2 separate regions of the Homo sapiens genome follow, and region 1 is linked to region 2. The links are contacts of gene promoters, found by promoter capture Hi-C in blood cells and fetal thymus (Javierre and others, 2016). All regions are on one chromosome and are shown on one strand. Each heading gives the region's core, a stretch centred on a gene start or on the middle of the fragment in contact. The rest is flanking DNA. Distances are from core to core; before and after follow the strand shown. Region 1 holds the start of ACSL5 (acyl-CoA synthetase long chain family member 5). Region 2 holds the start of PDCD4-AS1 (PDCD4 antisense RNA 1).

Region 1 (6,380 bases), core at 2,156-4,655, 1.5 Mb after region 2:
AGGTTTGGAAACACACCAATCAGCACCCTGTGTCTAGCTCAGGGTTTGTGAATGCACCAATGGACACTCTGTATCTAGCTACTCTGGTGGGGACTTGGAGAACCTTTATGTCTAGCTAAGGGATTGTAAATACACCAATGGGCACTCTGTATCTAGCTCAAGGTTTGTAAACACACCAATCAGCCCCCCGTGTCTAGCTCAGGGTTTGTGAATGCACCAATTGACACTCTGTATCTAGCTACTCTGGTAGGGACTTGGGTAACCTTTATGTCTAGCTAAGGGATTGTAAATACACCAATTGGCACTCTGTGTCTAGCTCAAGGTTTGTAAACCATTCAGCACCCTGGTCTAGCTCAGGGTTTGTGAATGCACCAATCGACACTCTGGATCTAGCTAATCTAGTGGGGACATGGAAAACTTTTGTGTCAACACTCTGTATCTAGCTAATCTAGTGGGGACATGGCGAACTTTTGTGTCTAGCTCAGGGATTGTAAACACACCAATCAGCACCCTGTCAAAACGGACCAATCAGCTCTCTGTAAAACAGACCAATCGGCTCTCTGTAAAATGGACCAATCAGTAGGATGTGGGTGGGGCCAGATAAAAGAATAAAAGCAGGCTGTCCGAGCCCGGAGTGGCAACCACCTGGGGTTCTTTTCACACTGTGGAAGGTTTGTTCTTTAGCTCTTTGCAATAAATCTTGCTACTGCTCACTCTTTGGGTCTACGCTGCTTTTATGAGCTGTAATGCTCACTGCAAAGGTCTGTAGCTTTACTCCTGAGCCAGCAAGACCACAAACCCACCAGAAGGAAGAAACTCTGAACACATCTGAACATCAGAAGGAACAAACTCTAGACACACCGCCTTTAAGAACTGTAACACTCACTGCGAGGGTCCGCGGCTTCATTCTGGTAGCTAAACATACACAGATCAATGGGGCAGCATAGGGGCCAAGGCACTGCAGGGGTTCTCATGACTCTGAGTCAGGTGCTGTCTTGACCGACTGGTTGTGTGATTCCAGAAGCCTTCTTTCACCTGAAAAGGCCTCACTGGCCTCACCTATACAGTAAGTTTGCACATCATCTCCAGGGTTTCTTTCATTTCTACCCACTGTTTTTGTTTAGTAATGATGCCTTGCAGTCCTAATGATCTTGGAATCAAGAATGGTGACTAGAGAACTTCAAAGTGGAAAGAGAGGCTGGGCATGGTGGCTCATGCCTATAATCCCAGCACTTCGGGAGGCCGAGGCAGGCAGATCACTTGAAGTCAGGAGTTCGAGACCAGCCTGGCCAACATGGTGAAACCCTGTCTCTGCTAAAAATACAAAAAAAAAAAAAAAAATTAGCCAGGCATTGTGGTGCATGCCTGTAATCCCAGCCACTCCAGAGGCTGAGGCAGGAGAATTGCTTGAACTCAGGAAGTGGAGGTTGCGGTGAGACTCCGTCTCAAAAAAAAAAAAAAAAAAAAAAAAGGAGAGAGTAGGATGGCTGAGCCATGACGCAGTAGCAATGCTTCTTTTTTTTTTTTTTTTTTTGAGACAGAGTCTCGCTGTGTCGCCCAGGCTGGAGTGCAGTGGCGCGATCTTGGCTCACTGCAAGCTCCACCTCCCGGGTTCACACCATTCTCCTGCCTCAGCCTCCCAAGTAGCTGGGACTACAGGGGCCCACCACCACGCCCGGCTAATTTTTTGTGTATTCAGTAGAGACGGGGTTTCACCGTGTTAGCCAGGAAGCAATGCTTCCTATTCTAGCGCCTTGCTAAACTATGTGTGCTGCAGACTGTGTTCGTGATTCCGAATCCTAAAAACAACCGTCCTAGGCTTGTCTCTCAGCCTAGACTCTAGACTGATTTGGCTCATTTGGTTGTCTTGGAGACGTTCTAATTCTGAAGGGGGCAGTGGTCCCTTCTAGAAGATAGCTGGTCTGCAAATGCACACCTCTGCTTAGTCTGAATCCTAAAGTTATAGCTTGAGCCAATTAAAGTGGCTTCTCATTTTTCTCTCACTCTGATCTCAAGGAGCCCTTTTTCTTCTAGTAATCTAGACCTTCCTCTTCCTATCACAGTCTCAAGGATTGTGCCCCCAAAGCAGATGCAAAGCCCTGTCTACCCCTTCTCCTTCCCCTGAGGTAGAGCTTTATCGAAGGTTTCTCTTGGTAAACGTTAGCTTTCTGAACTAAGGGCCGTCTTTTTTTTTTTTCCCGCTTAAGCCCATTGCATAACAATCTCTTGTTTTAATCTTTTGCCCAACACTGCTTTTCTTACTGTCAGAGGTTACTACAAGTGTTTGAACAGGTAACTTCTACCTTTGAACTTCTGTTGTGACAGATTCAAAGGTTCCAGGGGAGTGTGTTGGCCACTCTCAGGACAGTACACAGTAGCTTCGGGTGTGTCCCAGTCAGTCCTAGGAGCTGTGGAAAGAGTAGAAGTGCCTGAATGTGGTGCTGAATCAATACAGCCAGCTGTGAGGGGAGCACTTCCTGGACCCAGGAAGGGAGAGTCTTCTTCCAAGGTAAGCTGCAATGATACTACCTGCACTATATTGAATATATCTGTGAGATAGTAGGGAGGGGATTGGTGTGGGGAAAGAAAGTGGGATTTGTTATGCTCAACCTAAGGCTCTTTAATAACATGAAATTACATTTAGTTGAATAGTAATCTCAGCTGACTTGTGTGGGAGGCAAAGAAAAAAATCAGTTGGAAAAGGGGTGGAGATATATGAGCTATCCAAATGCTAGCAGGGGATGGAATTGGAAGGGAACACTGATTTTGGTAAGTGTACTAAAGCACACCAAGCCAGAATGTGGGTCTCCTTCATCTTCCATTAAGAAATTTCTGTCTCAGTGTAGTTAGAAGGATCGTGCGTCAGCTGCTGAGGGCAGAGAGTCCCATTTGGCAGACAGAGAGGAAGGGAATCAGCAGATATTCGATTAGGTGCTGGGGACTGTTCTGGGTAGATTATGTATGTTACTTCATTGGTGTATCTCATCCTATAAAGCAGGTGGTATCCTTCCCATTTCACAGAGGCATAGTGCGTCTCCAGGCTGTTAAACAGCATGGCCTAAGCTACATAGCTCCAAGGTGGTGTGGCTAGAATTTGAGACTTGATTGGTCAGTTTCCACAGCCTGCCCAATAATGCAGAATTGTTGTGGGTTGCCAAAGCTTTCAGTTACCCCCTGAAATCCTGAGGGTGTCACTCATGTGCACAGAGGATTGATAGGAATACAACTCTGATGGGCCTTTAGAATGACTCAACCTTCCTGAACTTGAGCATTTTTACTGGAGGAGGTCAATAAAAAAAAAAGAAATAAAACCTCATCTTCCCCTGGCCCTGAGCCCTTTGGTGAAGGAAGACAGCACCCGGTGAAGGGCTCAGAGGTATTAGTGTGGCTGAGATTCGACACCCACTCTGCCATCCTCTGCTCTCCTCTAGAGGAAGTTGCCTCTTGGGGAGCTGAGTTCCTGAAACTAAGCAAATGACAAGTGCTCCTCCAGCCGTGAGATGAGCCAGAGGATGGAATGCCACAGGCCCCACTTCGTCTCCCAGCCCTTCATCTTTCTTCCATGTCCAAAGGCGGCTCCCCAGAGGCCAAGGGCTCAGCTCTTGTGTTCTCTGAGACTGTGGCACAGCTCACCCTGGCTTCCTTAGTAGGAAGCTTTTAAGAACTGCTCTGTAGAAAGAACAAACCCTAATCTAGCTCCAGCAAAGAGCCAGGATCATGCTGAACTTCCTGTGAGCCTTCGTGGGGGATCGAGGCTGGAGAAAGTGCTGCTTCATTCTGAGGTATCTGTGAGGTGGGGAAGGGGCAGGAAAATTTGTCATTTCGGCTTCCTAATCTGAGAATGGTAGCTCCAGGGCCCCCCTGTAGCCACAGCCTTAGGCGGATCAAAAATGAGACTAATACAGGTCCTGGTAATACTGGGGGTGACCAAGGCGAAAGAATCGATTTTTAAGTTAAGTTTTGAGGTGTGACTGTATCAGAGGGAAAGAAACCATGCCAATTGAACGACTCACAGCCCTGTCGTTCCTGACTTGCTTATTTTCTTGGCTTTGCCAGAACTTCTTCAGAGACCAAGGCAGGCAGCTCTGGCGACTGGAGAGAGGCGGGGTAGAAGGTGTTTGTGTGGGTCTGAGGGCTGAGGTACCCTCTAGCCAGACTTTCCTGTCCTCCGAATCCAGCAGGGAACAGCGTCACCTCTGCCTCTGTGAGGCTTCTGATCTGAGGGGGCACCTCAAGTCATTTTAGTTTGTTTGTTTTCATCTTAGTTGAAAGATGATAGGCCACAGGAGGGCAGGGTCAACTGTGTTGAGGCAAGCTGGCTTTTGTGTCGGCCCTTAGGGGCTGAGGTGAAAGGCTTTGACACGGAGCCAGGGTAGCTTTGGCAGCTTCTCCCCTCCTGGTCAGAACACTTCCACTTTCAGTTGTGAAAAAAAAAATTAAAACCAGGAAGTGAAGTCCCCGAGCACGTTAGAAAGCCTGACATGGCCTGACTCGGGACAGCTCAGAGCAGGGCAGAACTGGGGACACTCTGGGCCGGCCTTCTGCCTGCATGGACGCTCTGAAGCCACCCTGTCTCTGGAGGAACCACGAGCGAGGGAAGAAGGACAGGGACTCGTGTGGCAGGAAGAACTCAGAGCCGGGAAGCCCCCATTCACTAGAAGCACTGAGAGATGCGGCCCCCTCGCAGGGTAAGGGGACCATCGAGGGGGTGTTATTCAGCAAGGGGGTCTTGTGAGGGTGTGACAGAGGCCAAGGGGGCATCCTGACCCCCGACTTTCTTTAAGCGACTTAGAATCAAGGGCCGGCTGAGTTCCACGGGCACATCATGCTGTCTCCCTCCTGGTCTCGGTCATGCCTTCAGACCCTGTGTCAGGAGGAGCAACGGGAAGGAAGGATGTGGGGCATGCATGGGGCTCACTTTCCTTCTCTCGACTCTCTTGGGGAAGGTGAACCAAAACAGAGACCTCTTTTTGTGGGTCTGAGCATCCAGCATAGCTCCCCTGAGGTGGGCTGGGGGTTTGCCCTCAATTTTATGTTGGGTAAGACTGATGAATGAGACCAATGGGGTGGGAGAGACAGATGAATGGAGCTGAGTGTATTTTAGGAAGTAAGGCCACAGGTTAAGTCTCAGGTGCTGCTTAATTCCTAAGTACTTCCTTCCCAATGCCCACTCCCTGAGGGTCCTAAGGTGAATCTCAAAGACCCTCAGGGAGTAAGCACTGGAAAGGGACTCTACCACTGGAGACCCTCAGGGAATAAGCACTGGAAAGGGACTCTACCACCGGAGACCCTCAGGGAATAAGCACTGGAAAGGGACTCTACCACCGGAGACCCTCAGGGAATAAGCACTGGAAAGGGACTCTACCACCGGGGCTTGGTACCTTCTGAGATATCAGCCTTTTTTTGGTGGTCTGAAAGGTAGAATTGAATCTATAGCTCCAATGTGTAGGTGATTAGTATTCTATATCAGAGGCAGAGTCTTAAAAAATAAAGTTAAGGCCGGGCGCAGTGACTCACACCTGTAATCCCAGAACTCTGGGAGTCTGAGGTGGGTGGATCACCTGAAGTCAGGAGTTAGAAACCAGCCTGGCCAACATGGCGAAACCCCATCTCTACTGAAAATACAAAAATTAGCTTGGCGTGGTGGCGTACGCCTGTAATCCCAGCAACTCAGGAGGCAGGACAATTGCTTGAACCTAGGAGGCGGAGGTTGCAGTGAGCCGAGATGGCACCACTGCACTCCAGTTTGGATGACAGAGCAAGACTCTGGCTCAAAAACAACACACAAACAAACAAATAAAAAAACATTGAAAACTGACTTAGTTTTCTTTTAAAAAAGGAGTAATTGGTTTTGTTTATTTCTCCCTTCATATTCTGATATGGAGTCACTCTGTGGTAGTCCCCTCCGATTGATCAGTATTCAAGGTTAAACACAGAACATGTCTTGAAAGAGGCATGGTGTAAAATTTTATAGCCATCTTTTGTGTATTTGGCATAATAAAAGGAACAAAAACCTAAATAAAACAAGAAGTGTAAGTGCAAATGCTTATAGGACAGGCAAGTAATATAGAGAAGTAAAGTAGATGGTGTGTAATAAGATGCTAATGGTGGAAACTTTAGCAAAATTCAGAGCAGGCATACCCCAGATAAATGCATTCAAATTTAATTATTAAAAAAGAGAAAACACTTTTTAATCCAGACCAAACAGAATATTTCAGCCTAGCCTGACCTAAAATAGTCTCTCCCAGGCTATATTGTAATTTTTTGAGGGCAAAGACACCAACAACAACATCAGCGTGTCATTGCATACCTAACCATCCACCTATAGTGAGACCACAGATACTACATGGAGGCTGGAGATGGAGGAAGGAGAGAGAAAT
Region 2 (6,928 bases), core at 4,429-6,928:
TATTTATTTATTTTTGCTCAAAATAAATAGAGGTTCGATTAGTTCCATTAATTAACTTCTACCCAGCATTTGTCTCTTCAGCCATCCCCCTTCCTCAGCCCTGCCTTACCCCTGCCCTTCTCTAGCCTTCTCTGTTTGTACTTCCTTATAGATTTGGCTGTCTTAATCACAACCCAAGATCATTCATTTCATTTATTTTCCAGAATGAAAAGTTCCTCATTTCTATACCAGGCTTTCTGGGCCCTACCTCCTTGTCTGGGAAGCAAGCCGACACTGCAGACATAGAGGGGAGGGGGGCATAATGGCAGCTATGTGCACTCAGGGCAGCTGGAGAAAAGAGGATTAATTCTGAGACATGTGAAGCCTAGCCCAGGATCCAGTGTTCCAGAAGAATGCGAATAAAGCCCCGAGAGATACAACTGGAGGAGCACTTCTCTACCCTGACTCAACACTATTAAATGCAGGGCGTGGCAGTTATAATAAATGCTGAAAAGCATCGGGTGGAATGGTCTGTGTTTGCAAAAGTCTAATGAACTGGAGTTTGCAAAGGCTTAGAACTTAGGCCAAGTATAGGAGATGTGGTAAAATTTGTGTTTTGGCGGGGGATATGGTGCGGGAAAGATTTCTTGCTGGAGTTCCTCAATGTTAATTGAGCTTTTTTTCTAAATCTCTAAGGTGGTAGGAGTGATTTGAGGGGGGGAAACCCCATAAAAGACAAATGTACTAAGAAAACCTTTCGAAACCTGAATTGAGGAAATAAAATCTTAGTAGTCTTTCAATTTTTCTTGGTACATACCACAGTAAAATATTGCATCTATTTTTTGAACTATGCTTCACATTACTCTGTGCTTGCTTTTTACCCCAGGAAAGACATGCAAGAAATGCCCCTTGAAGGGTTTCTAAACGTTGTACAATGCTTACTACCCTTTCCCTCTTCCCCACTTTCAGGCCCCTGAGATGGATTCATCTGATACCAGGAGCCTCTAGGACCCAGAAATTTAACTGTCAATCAAGAGGCATGTGAGGGAAAGTCCAGCCCAGCCTGGGTGCCAGAAGGTCTGGATTCCTGGTCTGCACATTCCCTACAACTCTGGGCAGAGATCTCATATGTACTTCTGGCTCAGCTACTAACTTAGCTGTGTGGCTTTAGGTGACCCACTTAACTTCTCTGAATCTGTTTCTCCATTTGTAAAATAAAAGGTTTGGACTAGGGAATCCCCAAATTTCCTTTCAGTATAAAAGTTCCATGATTACCAGTGACCTGCTCAAGGTTCATTATTTCCCTCATGTTTAAAGCACAGAATCTTGTCCACTTCATAGGGAGGTGGTGAAAGTCTATGCACATGTGCTCAGTAAATCTTAGGCCAACACAAATGTCAGCTATCATCATTATTATAAGAATTCTTTATGCAGCTCTTTCTTCAGAACATGTTTTATATCTTTTACCATTTGTGCTAAAGTGCAATTTTTGCCTTAGAGAAATTCTCAAAATTCAGGCTTTGGTTTGACAAAAGGAGACAAGGCGTCAGTTCAGGTAGATGAAGTTGCTGCAAATGACAGCAGCATCTAAAATTTCTTAGGAAGGAAGTGGGCTAAGACCTACCCTTAGCCCCCAGAAAGACAAATTCTCCTCAATTTCATTTAGGGGCATGACCATTTCTTATTAAGAAACAGAACTCTCAAATGAGGCTTTACCCTAAGAATGAAAAGGCCTTGGAGAGTTCCAAAGGCATTAATAGTAAATCTAGGTGCTTATCTTTTGCCTTCAACTGTGCTTTTTCAAGTACTTTACCCAAATTAATTAATTAGTGCTCCTAAACCCACACCAGCCATCACTTTGCCTTTGGGATGGAGGGAGGTGATATTATCTGAGCTTTGCATTAGGAGAAAGCCCCTGGGTTGACAGTCCCTCTGTCCATACCCGGTGGAATCCTCTCCTGCCAACAGTGGCAAACTCCTTTGTTTGTTTGTTTTGAGGTGGAGTCTGTCTCTGTCACCCAGGCTGGAGTGCAGTGGCGGGATCTCAGCTCACTGCAACCTTCGCCTCCTAGGTTCAAGAGATTCTCCTGCCTCAGTCTCCTGAATAGCTGGGACTACAGGCATGCACCACCACGCCCAGCTAATTTTTTTGTATTTTTAGTAGAGATGGGGTTTCACCATGTTGGTCAGGCTGGTCTCAAACTCCTGGCCTCAAGTGATCCGCCCACCTTGGCCTCCTAAAGTGCTGGGATTACAGGCATGAGCTACCACACCCGGCCAGCAAACTTTCTTATCTCTTGTTCTCCATTCCCAGGACTCCCATGGTACCAACTCAGTACCTTGCTCAGCATCCCAGGGTGTTAGAACTGAATGGCTGCTTATGGACTCCCTGCAATGGGCACCTCCTTCTTTTACAGCACAGAAAATTGAAGCATTCAATTCACTCAGGGAGAGGAAGTGAAACACCCAAAGCAACACAGCTAGTTAGGGACAGGGTCACTACCTTGTCTTAAGAGGCGAAAAATAGGAACTATCTCCCACCCTCTCCCCTGACAAAACCAAACACTCTTTGCGCCCCTCCAAGTATCTCAATACTGCTTAAGCCTGAGGAGTACGGGGAAGATGAAGTATGTAACGTTTATCTACTCACAAAGCACAGAGTTTCTGTTGCCACCTCTGAGCAGCTGTCTTGTTCTGGGCAACTGTGATCTCCCTTCCTCTCCTAAGCTCTTGGAATGAATCTTTCTTAAGGGAAATGGAAGTTGCAATTCCATTATTCTGTATAGAGTGAGTTAAGGGGAAGGCCTCTCTCCTTTTCTGTCATCTAATAGCTAAATTAACATAAGCCCATAGGCACAGGGATTCAGGTAACAGAAACCTAGTTTGTGACAATTACAACGTGAAATGAAAACATACATTGTGGCCCAGAAGCCCGGGCAGCCCTAGGCTTCAGATATTACCTACCCTAAAGTAGTATAATGCCTTTTACCAAGAACACAGCTGAATCAACTGTGCTTTTCATAGAACAGGCACACACTAAAATATTTGTGGATTGATTTGGTAGGCAAAAATTCTTGGCACTTGGATACTTCTCCATTTTCAGCTTATTCTTAAAAAAATTTTTTTTGTTAAATGTTCAGCTGCAAAGGCACAGGTGACTAAGTGTTCAACACAGCTGGAAGGAATGTTGGTGACAGTGGCTGTCATCTATATTTCCCAAGTTGGTTTCTAAATAACACTGCTTCTGGGGTATCTTGAGAAAAAAAGGTTCTGTGTTTAAACAAGGTAGGAAACATTACTAATCTTCCTACCTTGGTCTCCCAAGACACTAAAGGCACATAGCTTATTAAAAACACTGAGAAGGCTGGGCACGGTGGCTCATGCCTGTAACCCCAGCACTTTGGGAGGCCGAGGAGGGCAGATCACTTGAGATCAGGGGTTCGAGACCAGCCTGGCCAACATGGTGAAACCTCAACTCTACTACAAATATAAATATTAGCCAGGCGTGGTGGCAGGCGCCTATAATCCCAGTTACTGGGGAGGCTGAGGCAGGAGAATCACTTGAATCCAGGAGGCACAGGTTGCAGTGAGTCAAAATAGTGCCATTACACTCCAAACTGGGCGACAAGAGCAAAACTTCATCTCAAAAAACAAACAAACAAACAAAAAACCACTGAGAAGAGTTGTGGGTAAAGAAACAGTTTTATTTTTGTTTAAACGAGTTATTTCCAAGACCATTTGACCATGGAACAATCCCTCCCACATTTTTTTTTGCATGATATCTATTAAAGTTCCACAAAATTCATGTTCTTTGGAAAATAACTTGGGAATTACTGATTGAGCCCAATTTCTGAATTTTATTGGTAAAGAAAAAGGTCCTGAGAGGGGCTGAAGTTCTTACAGGAAGTTAGTGGGGGAGGTAGGACGACAACCCTATTTCCTGAGTGTCTGGCCCAACCTTGTCAACCACACGCAAATACGGCAGCATTCTCAAAGGTGGGTTCTGGGATCCCAGCCATCATGGGTACTGCTTGAGATGATACGCAAAAAGGACATGAACGTTTTCCTCCCTAATGGGTCCTTTGGGGGCAATTTGCTAAAACATAACAGGTTGTTTTAGATGCTTCTTAAAATTGGTAATCATATCCCATTCTTTCTTTATCTCATAGAACTCGGGATGCCTACCCAACACAGCCTGATTATGCTATATGTGCTTAGTAAGTACATTCAATGAATGACTAAATGAAAGACAGGGAGGAAGAAGGAAACAGTCCAGAACTGAAAGGGATGAGAAGAGAAAAAATGTGGAGAAAGAGAAGGATGGGTAACAAAGGAGCCAGCAGTCACTGATCAGTAGAGTATAGGTGAGAGAGGGGAAAGGAGACAGCTGCAGATAATGGAAAATAACAAAACAAAACTGAGGTCTGGGAAGCTCCGATTTTAAAAAGTGAACATGAGTTATGAGACTAATTCAGATACTGGCCACACCAGGAGGCCCCCGCCCAGGAGATGAGGATGACCACCAACTGCTGAGAATCTTTGTAAACTCAAATCAAGGTGTATTTATTGCACAGGCACAATAAATGAACAAGGCATCTTAAGTACTACAATGACAGGTGAGTGGGTCAGGCACAGTGGCTCACGCCTGTAATCCCAGCACTTTGGGAGGCCGAGGCAGGCAGATCCCTTGAGCTCAGGAGTTCAAGAGAAGCCTGGGCAACATGGCAAAACCCCATCTCTACTAAAAATACAAAAAACTAGCTGGGTGTGGTGGCACAGGCCTGTAGTCTCAGCTACTTGGAAAGCTGAGGTGGGAGGATGGCTTGACCCCAACAGGTTGAGGCTGCAGTGAGCCAAGATTGCACCACTGCTCTCCAGCCTGGGCAACAGGGCAAGACCCTGTCTCAAAACAACAACAACAACAAAATCACAGATGAGTAAGACACAGGTCTTTCCCTAAACAAGGTTACAGTCTAATGGGCAGAAGGGCTAGGACAGGGACTCAGATGAAATAATGCCAGGTAGAATGTGATCAGTGCCCCTGGAGGTGTGGCAAGCCAACACTGTGAGGAATCAGCGGCAGGAAGATCATATCAAATCACGAGGCTCCAGAAAAACTACGAGGGTCCAGGAATGGTGGCTCACGCTTGTAATCTCAACGCTTTGGGAGGCAGAGGTGGGCTGATTGCTTGAGCCCAGGAGTTCAAGACCAGCCTGGACAACATGATGAAACCCTGTGTGTACAGAAAATACAAAAATTAGCTGGGCATAGTGAGCTGTGCCTGTAGTCCCAGTTACTCAGGAGGCTGAGGTGAGAGGATCGTTGAGCTAGGGAGGCTGACGGAGGTCGAGGCAGCAGTGAGCTGTGATCATGCCACTGCATTCTCCTGGGCTAAAGGGCAAGCCCCTGCCTCAATTAAATAAAACAACAACAACAACAAAATAAAAAACTACCAGGAAGGGCCATGAGGCACAGAAGGATTGCATCAGGCGGAGATAGGAGATGAGAAGAGAGACATTTCAAGGTGATATATAAAGAACTACCAGGGGGTGAGGAAGCATATGGGGAGATGTGTGGAGACACAGCCTGAAAGTCTTGAAGTCACATCACGGAGCCTTGAATGACCGACCGAGGCGCTGACACTCAAGAGAGGCAATGGGAAGCCAGTGAAGGTTTGTGTGTGTGTGTGTGCGTGTGTGTGCAGAGAAATAGTAGCATTAGAGATGATTCCCAGGCAGGGTGACTGGGCAGCCAAGGGAAAGCGCTGGCCTGTGCGGGATGAGGCAGTTGGGTTCTGGAGAGCACAAGCAATCATTCGGTGCTGCCCATCAGACAACTGAAAAATCTGATCAGAGGCAGTGGCTAAGTCCCCGCCTGGGAACACAAAGGAAGCCTAAGGTTCTGGTTATCACCCTCAGGGGACCGTGACCTTGAAAGAGTAAGGATAGTACCAGCCAAAACCAATGCAGCCAAGAGGAAAAGTCACAGAGAACAGCGAGGGGAGGTGGAAGTTTCAATACAGAAATTGTAGCCATGGCTGAGAACCCCAGCACTGGAGGCCGGAATTTGTGCGTTTGAACGCCAGAGGCTTGGCTAGTCATGATTAGCAAAGGAACTTCAAAGAGTTTTGGAGCCTGCTTTATATCTGTGAAATGGGAATTATTTCCATCTCAAAGGTTTGAGGGGATTCGCTGAGAGAAACTTCTTAGCATGGGATCTCCAGAAACTGGAAGCCACAGAGAAAGCAGCGGCCAGAGGGAGGAGGAATCGGACAGGCTGATCACTTGGAGTGTTCGCCTAAGCAGTTTCTAGAAATGGAGGCAGGGACCATCAGGAAGCTCAAAACCTTTGCTTCAGCCGAGTTTGCAGAACGCCCTGTGAGGAGAATGGGTGAGCTGGGTCGAGGAAGCTTCATCCTCGTCCCCATCCCCCAGCACTGCCCTTTTCCCAACGCTCCCATCCCGCCACGCCTCCCAACATACCCCCACCCCGACTTCCCGCTCAACTCCCGCTCCAGCCAGTCCCAGGAGCCACATGCGCATGCGCCCTCCCGCGCCCCTCCCCAACTTTCCACGTTTCACTCCTCTCCCTTTTCCTCCTCAGCTCCGGCTCCGCCGCCACGATTGGCCAGCCGACCACCCGGCCTCGGCCAATAAGCGCCGCCCTCTCGCCCCCGTGTTACTGGGTAGAAGAAAACAAAAACAAACAGAGCGAGAAGGGCCAGAGACTCTCCGAGGCGGCGGCAGAGACAGAAGAGCGGGGTCGGGGCCGGCTGACCAGGAACCTGGGCGAGCAGCGGCGGGGGCCCGAGGGGTCAGTACCAGTAGGCGCGGCTCACACGCTCGGGAAGACTGCGCCCTCTCCCCCATCCCTCCTCGGAGGCAGCCGCAAGATGGGAGGGGGCGGGGGCGGAGGCGTGGGGGTCGCGGTCCTGTCAGGTCCGGGCCT

The links. Contacts are between HindIII fragments. The CHiCAGO score rates a contact against its expected background, and 5 or more counts as called.
Region 1: a fragment that was not itself captured here is called in contact with the fragment with the promoter of PDCD4-AS1 in region 2 in 2 of 17 cell types (M0 macrophages and M1 macrophages); the score reaches 7.3 in M0 macrophages.

What each region holds. Positions count from the first base shown.
Region 1 is chr10:112,371,761-112,378,140 of GRCh38, forward strand. ACSL5 (acyl-CoA synthetase long chain family member 5) reads left to right here and starts at 2,356. Exons shown (of 21, transcript NM_203379.2): 1 at 2,356-2,509. RefSeq lists enhancers at 4,057-4,206, 4,088-4,588, 4,347-4,566, 4,589-5,089. The HindIII fragment of the contact is 494 bases long and covers 3,159-3,652 here.
Region 2 is chr10:110,865,226-110,872,153 of GRCh38, forward strand. It overlaps PDCD4-AS1 (PDCD4 antisense RNA 1), which reads right to left and starts at 5,679. Exons shown (of 1, transcript NR_026932.1): 1 at 3,665-5,679. It overlaps PDCD4 (programmed cell death 4), which reads left to right and starts at 6,703. Exons shown (of 12, transcript NM_014456.5): 1 at 6,703-6,793. It overlaps LOC124902500 (a long non-coding RNA gene), which reads left to right. Exons shown (of 2, transcript XR_007062288.1): 2 at 949-1,223. RefSeq lists enhancers at 2,324-2,373, 5,201-5,811 and silencers at 2,494-2,563, 6,816-6,865, 6,896-6,928. The HindIII fragment of the contact is 8,654 bases long and covers 1-6,387 here.